Linked DNA regions of Homo sapiens: region 2 is linked to region 1. The links are contacts of gene promoters, found by promoter capture Hi-C in blood cells and fetal thymus (Javierre and others, 2016). All regions are on one chromosome and are shown on one strand. The core of a region is centred on a gene start or on the middle of the fragment in contact, and the rest is flanking DNA. Distances in the headings are between cores, read along the strand shown.

Evidence for each region. The method cuts DNA at HindIII sites, captures the fragments that hold promoters and counts their contacts. A CHiCAGO score of 5 or more calls a contact.
Region 2: a fragment that was not itself captured here is called in contact with the fragment with the promoter of EPS15 in region 1 in 4 of 17 cell types (endothelial precursors, neutrophils, M1 macrophages and 1 more); the score reaches 6.6 in endothelial precursors.

Annotation. Positions count from the first base shown.
Region 1 is chr1:51,517,890-51,522,487 of GRCh38, forward strand. It overlaps EPS15 (epidermal growth factor receptor pathway substrate 15), which reads right to left and starts at 1,377. Exons shown (of 25, transcript NM_001981.3): 1 at 1,310-1,377. The coding sequence starts at 1,342. It overlaps EPS15-AS1 (EPS15 antisense RNA 1), which reads left to right and starts at 383. Exons shown (of 5, transcript NR_183651.1): 1 at 383-557. It also overlaps a transcript of OSBPL9 not described here. RefSeq lists an enhancer at 632-1,560 and silencers at 791-1,260, 1,411-1,600. The HindIII fragment of the contact is 8,390 bases long and covers 1-4,598 here.
Region 2 is chr1:51,780,428-51,785,633 of GRCh38, forward strand. OSBPL9 (oxysterol binding protein like 9) reads left to right here. Exons shown (of 24, transcript NM_024586.6): 16 at 737-908; 17 at 2,132-2,216; 18 at 3,488-3,598; 19 at 3,837-3,900; 20 at 4,015-4,155. Among named protein-coding and RNA genes, the nearest start is that of MIR761, 53 kb to the right of the region's middle. RefSeq lists a silencer at 4,790-5,084. The HindIII fragment of the contact is 1,961 bases long and covers 1,291-3,251 here.

The DNA of each region.
Region 1 (4,598 bases), core at 127-2,626:
CTATCCTACAGTGCTAGGCAAAGCACCCCAAAGCCTCTTGATTTTAAACACAGAAAACTCCACTGCCGAAATGTTTGCCCTATCCCAGCGCTAAAGCCTTAGAAGCACCGACGAATCTAGGCCAAGGAGTACAAGATGGCAGTGAGATACCACAATGCAGGCAAGGAAGACGGGATGGGCCCCAATCGGGAAGCACGCGCCACCAGCTCTGGAGAGAACCGTCTGAGGAGACGCGGGGGAGAGTTTGGGTCACAGGAGCAGGAAGGAACTGGCAGGTGTCTGTCACCTTATCATCCCGGACACCATGTTTACATTGTAATTGGCTTCTTTACAGAGAGGGAGGGACCAGGTTCCCAGTGTGAGTGATGTTTAGAGGTTTTCTGAGAAGCACAAGGACTGGACTTTGACAGGAAGCAACGAGGCAAGAGGGAAGCTCGAGAACAGGTTTTGCTGAGGATTCCCCCCAAGAAAAGTGCTCCCCGGGAGGCCGTTCCTGGCACCAAGACTGGCGGAGCCACCACACCCGTTAAAGGGATCCACCTGGACAGCGATCAGGCGTGAGCCCCCCGAGGGGAAGTTGAAGTGGAAGCAGACGTGGGTGGCAAAAGGCTGCATTGGGGGTCTGACCCAGAAGGAAACCTGATCAGGAGGGGGGAGAGGCTGAACGGAGGAAGGGGCCGGCAGAGTGGGTAGTTGAGTAGGATGAGACTTCTTTGGAGGCGAGGCTAACTACATTAAACTCTGGGAAGGGAGGGCTTCCGTCGGACCCTGGGAGAAAGGCAGGTCTGGAGAGGAAAGACTGGCTTGGGGGGCCTGCGCGTCCGGCTCTGGAAGGCAACTCCTACTGGGGGCGGCGCGCAGCCGGCCTGGCGGGCGAGCCTCGTGCGGCCCGGGGGTGCGGCCGGCCCGCGCGAGCTCAACAGGAGCTCACCTGGGATGCGTGCGGCCCTGTGGGAGGAAACTTCCTGGGTAGGTGAAAGCTGCCCCGCGGGAGCCGGCCCGGCACCGGCAGAGCGCGGCCGGGTCACAGTCCACTCGGCAGCGGCGCGGAGGGCGGCGAGGGCCGCGCGGGGCGGGGCAGGAGGCGCCCGACGACCCTGGGCGAGGTCGCGGCGGCCGCAGGGGGGCTCCGGCTCCGGAGGGCGCCCTCCCGCAGTCGCACCCGCTTTCCCTCACACACACCGGCCGCCCGGCCCACAAGCCAAGAAGCTGCCTGCTTGGCCCACAAGCCAAGAAGTCGGCGAAGCTGAGGGCGGTGGGGGAGGGGGCACCGGCCGGCCAAGCCCGGCGGACGGGCGTGTGGCGTTACCTGTGTCAGAGAGAGCTGGGCCGCCGCAGCCATGGTGTTTCCATCATGCAAGGGAGGGGAAGGAAGACGGGCTGACTGGGGCTCGGGGCGGGGAGGAGGCGGAGGGAGCGGCCGCAGGCGAGGCCGGGGCGGGCGGGCGGGCGTCTCCCCTAACTTCCACAACTTCCCTCCCCACGCCCGCCCCGCCCCGCCTGGCCCCGCCCGCCTGCCCGCCCGCCGGAGCCGGCCGCGGCGCCGCCCAAACCCTGGCGCCGGAGTCTCGGCCACCGGACCAGAGCCTGCCCCCGGGGCCGCCTTGGAAAACCCGGCGCGGACATAAAATTAAAGCGGACGGGCTGCGGAGGCGACTGCAGATTGACCTGTGAACTTCAGACAGGCCACCTACCTACGCTGAGCTCCTGCTTCTGAAAAATGGGGGAAATTGTAACTAGAGGCCCAGTTACTTACAAAGACTAAATGAGATAATGATAGAAAATAATAATGGCACTTTATATATGCCAGGCTCTGTACTAGACTCTTATTTTTTGAATTGTATGAATGAAGGAACTGAAACACAAATAAGTGTCTTACTAAGGTCATACAGCTAATTATATAGCTGAATTAGAATCCAAGTCTAACTGTAAATATTTAACCATCTGCTAGTATATTGGAAAAGAAGACATTAAGTCATTCCCTCCCACAGCCAAAATCCATTTGGAAAGGGGAAGCAAAAATGTATTTGCCTGGTGCCTGTCACATTTAGATTGTTTAACAAGGGAACGCTGGTGCCTGTAGCACTCCTAGCTTCTCCCATCATCCACTTAGCAAACTCCTCCTTCTTTCTCAGGACATAATTCAAGTTTCACCTCCTTTGCAAAGTATCTTTTTCTCTTCCTTATGTCAGAGTTACACACTCTCCTTTATAACCTTTCTTCTCTACCTTGTGAAGTCATCACCCTAATGACAGTTTACACCTATCTATCCCTCTAGATTAAGAGCTCCTCAATGGCAAGAACTGTTTTCAATATATTTCTATATCGTCAGACCCTAGCATTACAGTGCATGCTCAGTAAAGGCCTTCGTTCCTGCCTATATTAAACATAACACATCCTACACCTTCTGATGCTGCCAACCTTCAGTTGGAATACCCAGTTACTTGAAATTCATCTTCAAAGTCTCAGAGTATATACCACCTACTTCAAGAAGCCTTCTAGGAACTCCACACCCCACCTCTAAGTTGTTCTGATGTGACCGTTTTTATACTCTGCCTTATCTGTAAGCGTTAGTTGAGGGTTTGTCTCCACCTCACTGCACTGTAAAATCCTTGAGGACAAGGGGCTGACTCACTGCTTTATCTCCCTCATAGTTTAGCCTACCACAGAGGCCTCAATAAATGTATTTGCCCGAATTGGTCTTAATTTCTTAGTCACGATGGCTTCCCATTACAACAAACCACAACTCTATCAGGCCTACACCCATTACCATTATCATAGCAGTCCCCGTGGTAGGAGGGACAACTGAACAAGACCCAGGATGGAGTTAGCCCCACCTAAGTTTTTAGACTATTGCCTCCACAAGCAAACCATTCCAGAAATTTCCCAAGGAACTCCTAATTCTACTCAGACTCCTTCTGGCAAAGGCCAGCTAACAAGAGCAAGCCATATAGGTCTGGTGAGTAACCACTTATTCAAGAGCATCTTCCTTGGCTTCTTTTTTGCTGCTAATCTCTTTAACTGAAGAGAGAATAAGAGATACTGTTTTACATTACTTCACTTTGGTACACTTATCAGCCATAACCACAACCGGTGTTTCTACCGGTGTTTTCTACTTTATATTAGCACATTTGAGCTTCACAACTCTAAAAGGAAGTAATCGTCATACTCACTTTACAAATGAGGTAATGCAGGGTCACAGAGGCTAAGTGATTTGCCCAGGGTTATACAACTGATAGACAAAGCAGCATAGTATAGTGAAATAAATAGGACTCAGACATTAGGAATATCCAGGTTCCATTCCTGGCTCTCCCATTCACTAGTTGTATGCCCTTAGGGTTGTTGTGAGGATGAATGAGATGACATATACAAAAGTGCCTAAACTTGTAGCTACACAAATTATGAAATCTGAAAATCATGGAGCAAATCGCTTTGGGGAGTATAATTTCACTTGCTATTCAAGGGGACTCCTCCAAACCATATGAGATGTAAGATATTCCTCTCAGATGAATAAGGTGGAAACCCTGCCATGTAGTTTCCGGAAAGGCAGTGCAGAGTAGCAAAGAGAATATTAAGAATCAGAGTGTGACCGCAGGCAAACCATTTAACCTCTTTGAGCTTCAGTTTCTCATACAGGAAAAGTAAGGAATTATTACTGTTTTAACTTTTATATGATTTATATTAAGTCAAAAGCACACCTTACCCAGGCATGGTGGCACATGCCTATAGTCCCAGCTACACAGGAGACTGAGGCAGTTGCACAGAGCACGAATTCAGCCTGAGCAACATAGAGAGACCCCATCTCTAATAAATAAATAACACCTTGTATGTATACAGTATTGCTTTTCACCGTTTATAAATGTTTTTATTTTATTTTTATTTTTTTGAGACAAGGTCTCACTCTGTCACCCAGGCTGGAGTGCAACGGTGCAATCTCGGCTCACTGCAACCTCCACCTCCTGGGTTCAAGCGATTCTTGTGCCTCAGCCTCCTGAGTAGCTAGGATTACAGGCACCCGCCACCACACCAGCTAATTTTTTTTTTTCTAGTAGAGACAGGGTTTCACCGTGTTGGCCAGGCTGGTCTCGAACTCCTGACCTCAAGTGATCTGCCTGCCTCGGCTTCCCAAAGTGCTGGGATTACAGGCGTGAGCCACCGTGCCCGGCCAAATGTTTAGAAGCACAACTTCTAATGTTCAGTAAGTACATTATAAAAGTTTGTTGAATTGAACTGAATACAATCTCATATATAATTGTTATTTGGATCTTCACTTTATCCCCATAAGAAAATCAAGGAACAAATATTTTATAAATTTATTTTATAAATAGCTTCTATAAGTAAGAGCCATTGACAGCAGGCTTGGGTCTTGGTTAACAAAAAATAAAAAGAATCAGATGCCCTAGCAAGGGAAGACTTGCTTAAAATCTTTATATGGGAATTGCCCCACGTCCCCTTCCAGACCACTAGTAATTTGTAGTGGCTTCTTTCTTCATTCGTAGGTTCTGGTTTAAATTAATGACATGTAATGGGAGATGGGAGCATGTCTATAGGGAAGAGAATAATGGGCCAAATTCCCAAAAAAGGCCTAGAACTTCTGA
Region 2 (5,206 bases), core at 1,021-3,520, 260 kb after region 1:
AGCAGCACAATTTGCAATTGCAAAAATGGAACTAGCCCAAATGCCCATCAATCAACAAGCAAATAAAGAAAACGTGGCATATATATACTGTGGAATGCTACTCAGCCATAAAAAGGAACGAAATAATGGCATTCACAGCAATCTAGATGGAGTTGGAAACCATTATGCTAAATGAAGAGACTCAGGAATGAAAAACCAAGCTGGTGGCAAGCACCTGTAATCCCAGCTACTCGGGAGGCTGAGGCAGAGAATTGCTTGAACCTGGGAGGTGAGGTTACAGTGAGCCGAGATCACGCCACTGCACTCCAGCCTGGGTGACAGAGCGAGACTCCGTCTCAAAAAGAAAGAATGATACAGTGGACTTTGGGGCTTCAAGGGGAAGGGTGGGAGGGGTGTGAAGGATAAAAGACTACACATTGGATATAGTGTACACTGCTTGGGTGATGGGTGCACCAAAATCTCAGAAATCACCACTGAAGAAGTTATCCATGTAACCAAACACACCACCTGTTCCCCAAAAACCTGTTGAAATTAAAAAAAAAAGAAAAAACCACTAAGACCAATGCATTTAATTATATATATTATACTCAATTTTAAAATGAAACTGTAAGCTAACTCCTGGTCCTAGGTCCTCAGTCCTCTCAGCCTGACTTAGGTGGACCATGCTGGGGGTTGTTGCATCATCTTGTCTTGTACCAGAAAGCAGGACATTAAATTTTGTCTTTCTCCCTTGCAGCATTAGTGACCAGAAGGATCCCAAGGATCGAATGGTTCAGGTTGTGAAATGGTACCTCTCAGCCTTTCATGCGGGAAGGAAAGGATCAGTTGCCAAAAAGCCATACAATCCCATTTTGGGCGAGATTTTTCAGTGTCATTGGACATTACCAAATGATACTGAAGAGAACACAGTGAGTTCTGCATTGACATTTTTAAATTATCTTAATTGTATACTGATTCAAGATTTTATTTAGGGGCAAATAATAATGATGAAAGCAATGATCAAAAGATGGTCACCACCCATAGAAGAAATTGTTGTTAGAGCAGCATAGTTTGAATGTAGTGAGAAGGAGGAAAAAGAGTAGGATGAGATGAGGATGGGGATGTAGAAATCAGATCTTGCAAGGTCTTGTAGACCATAATATAATTTTATGGCTTTTCAGGATCTCATTTTTGTTTTGAGAAGATCAATAGAATGATTTTGTGAAAAATAAATTGAGAAGGGGCAAATATAGAAGCATGAAGACCATTGTGGAGGTTTTGACATTATTCCAAGAGAGACATGGTGATTCAAGCTTTATTTTGGAGGTAGAACTGATTGATGGATTGGGGGAGGTAAGGGAAAGGAGACATCAGAGATGAATCCTTGCATGTGGATGTAAGCAGTGGCAGTGTCATTTACTGATAAGGAAAAGATTGGATTTGGGGAGGGAAAAATCAAAAGCTAATATAAAATATAAAGTTTTAGAGGTCTGTGAAGCTGTCAAGTAGGGAGATGGAATTTAAGAGTGTGGAGTTTAGGGAGAGGTCTGAGATGGGGATGGGGCTTTCAAAGAGTATAGTGTATTTAGATGACATTTTAAAGCTCTAGGATTGGATAAAATTATTTAGGAAGACAGCATAGCTACAGAAGAGTAGGTAACCCAGAACTGGCTCTGAGGCTCCAACAAATTTAGTGGTTGAAGAAAATGACCAGCAGGGAAGACTCAAATGCATGTAAAAAGGCTTTAAGAAGTAAAAAAAACAAAACCATAGCCCACAGCACCTGACACATAATAATCTGTCAGTAAACATGATTCTCCATATATTTCCCTCTCCAAGTGATGCACTACGTATAGTCCATACTGAAGACAGACAAGTATGTGTCTGTTCTTATTCATTTGGCAGACATTGATAAGTGCCTACTCTTGTCAGCCCTGAATGAGGCACACAATCCTTGCCTTTAAGAATGTCTTAGTCTAGTCAGGGAGACTGACACAAAGCAATTAAAATATTGTAGTTAAGTTCTACAATAGAAATATATATATAGGGTGCTTGGTGTGTGTAGAGCGAGCAGAGACCCCAATTACCAGATTCTCTGAAATGTCATTTGTGTTTTCTCATCAAAAGAAAATTATGTTATATTTGCTTGCAGGAACTAGTTTCAGAAGGACCAGTTCCCTGGGTTTCCAAAAACAGTGTAACATTTGTGGCTGAGCAGGTTTCCCATCATCCACCCAGTAAGTTACAGAGCTCCTCTGCAACCTGTGCTCTCAAAACTATTCTGTCTAAAGAGGGTCATTAAAAGCGCCATAGCTGAGGGTACTGTCAGTTGTGTGACTAGCTGTGTGTTTCTTATTCCCTGAAGTGGAAACTCAAGTTGATTTGTTCCTCATATCTTTTCCTTTTGTAAGCTCCAGACTCTTAGCTTCACAAATTAAGTGCGTATAAAAAGAAGGGATTTAGGAAACCAACTTTTAATGCTTCCAGAGTCATCTTATATATAGTAATTTGTGCTGTAGAGACCTCAGCAACTGTGAGACAGTTTATATAAGTGATACGTAGTTTCTACACAGTATATTCCTGGCATACTGCAGATACCAAAACCGAGGATGCTGAAGTCTCTTACATAAAATGGTGTCTTTTATATTCATATAACCTATGCACACCCTCCTGTATACTTGAGTCATCTCTAGATTACTTATAATACCTAATACAATGTAAATGCTATGTAAATAGTTGTTTCACTATTTATTTGTATTATTTTTATTTTGTATTTTTAAATTTTTTCTTTTGAGACAGGGTCTTGCTCTGTCCCCCAGGGTGGAATGCAGTGGCACAATCATAGCTCACTGCAGCCTCCTGGGCTCACATGATCCTCCCACCTCAGCCTCCCAGTTAGCTGGGACTATGGACATGTGCCACCACACCCAACTAATTTTCTTATTTTTTTTTTTTTTTTTTTAGAGTCAGTGTATCACTATGTTGCCCAGGCTGGTCTCAAATTCCTGGCCCCAAGTGATCCTCCCGTCTTGGCCTCCCAAAGTACTGGGATTGCAGGCGTTAGCCACTGAGCCCAGCCTCTGTATATTTTAGATCCACAGTTGGCTGAATCTGTGGGTACAAAACCCATGGATATGGAGGGTCAACTGTACATACCCTCAACATCTGGTTTGTTTAGTGCAGTATTAAAACTGGAAACACTGGCTGGGCCTAGGTTGGGGCTGGAGCCTGGGTGTACTTGCAGACCAGAACAGATAGCCCTTTTGGTTTTAAGCTTCCTGGGTTGGCCACAGCATCATTTCAGGGATGATCCTGCCCACGTGGCTCTGAATGAATGCTTGCATTGGGGAAAAGGGTATAAAAGGCAGGTAGGTACCTCCTGGCGTAATTGGAGGCTGTTTGAAGGGTAAAGGATTTCCCCATGAAGCCAATTATTTCCCCAGGTTATGTGATTTTGGAGAGGTGGCTGTAGGTATATATAATCTACTAATTGAAAATTTCTATTCAGTTTCAGCCTTTTATGCTGAGTGTTTTAACAAGAAGATACAATTCAATGCTCATATCTGGACCAAATCAAAATTCCTTGGGATGTCAATTGGGGTGCACAACATAGGGCAGGGTAAGTGTGTTGGCATTGGGTGGACTACAATGTTATAGGAGAATTTTATGAAAATGGCTAGACTAGATGTCATTGTTAGCAACTAAGCATTGGTATTGGGGGTGAGAGCAAAGGGTGGGGAACTAGATAGGTTATCCCTAAATTGAATGGAGTATCCTGGAGTAACCATCAGCTCGACAAGAAAGCCTTGTGGCCACTTGGCACTACTCATCAGAGATTCTGTCCCTTCTCTCCACAGGCTGTGTCTCATGTCTAGACTATGATGAACATTACATTCTCACATTCCCCAATGGCTATGGAAGGCAAGTGTGTCCATTTCCTCTGATCAGCAGTAGACTCTGCTGTTCCTTGAGACATGCCCCTTCCCCCTCTTCCTCTTAACTGTCAACCTTACCTAAAAACTTTTGATTTTGCAGGTCTATCCTCACAGTGCCCTGGGTGGAATTAGGAGGAGAATGCAATATTAATTGTTCCAAAACAGGCTATAGTGCAAATATCATCTTCCACACTAAACCCTTCTATGGGGGCAAGAAGCACAGAATTACTGCCGAGATTTTGTAGGTATTTTTTCTGCCTTAGAGCTCTTATGCTTTTCTGAAATAACTGCCTTTTGTCTTGAACTACAGCTTCTGGATTAGGAGTGTGAAAGAATGGTTCTGTCTTTGTAAGCGTGTTTCACATTTTATGTGTCATGTCTTTTGCTGAAGTCCCATATCAGAAGAAGACCTAAAACATATATTCAGAGCAGTCAGAGGTCATTGATAGGTTTCCTTCCTAAAAACCTGACTTGCAATGTTGAACTAAAAGAGGCCTTCCTAGGTTGCCTAGCTAAACCAGATTATGGATCCCTAATTTATTCTTGCCAGATTGAATGATGAGCTGGTCCTTACAGCAGACTTTGTGACCCCTGCAGCACTGCCTCCTGGTCCTCACAGCTATCCCTTTTTCTGTGCCTTTGCTGGGGAAAAACAGTAACCATCACATTTTGCACGCATCTGGCTTGCTTCCACTTGACACTCTTGGGTCACGTGCAGATGACTGTGCCAGTCAGTGGAAAGTCTATAGTGATGGCACCATGACTCTCTCTGCCTCTGGAACCCTTAACTGGGGGGGAAGGGGACAGTGGGAAAGAAAGTTTCAGGCGTTGATAGCAGCTCTCCTCCCTCTGCCCTGGTCATGTCTCCCTTTTCTGGCCTCTTTCAATCCTGTTTATGCCTTGCCCTTCCTAACCAGGCCTTTGCTGTGTTGCTTATCTTCTCACATTCCATAGTTGTGTGTCCAAGTAGAGGTCTGTTACGGCTTTTGCAGAATGGATCCTTGCTCAGGGAAAGTATTCACACCATCTGGCACAGAGGTCCCTTTCAACCTGAGGATGAAAGCCTGCATTATATTCTTAAGCAAAGCCTTCCCTGACCCCCAGTGCCCATGTAAGCTCACCACAGCACTTACCACCTAGAATTTCAATGGTGGTTACGTCTCTCTCCACTACGCTGTGAACAGCTTGAGGATAGGGAATTTGCCAACTCTGTTATGGTCCTTGCACCCAGAATAGGACGTTCTTGCCCAAACCCACCATTCTTGGGATCTCAAGTTCATAAGCGTCCTGTT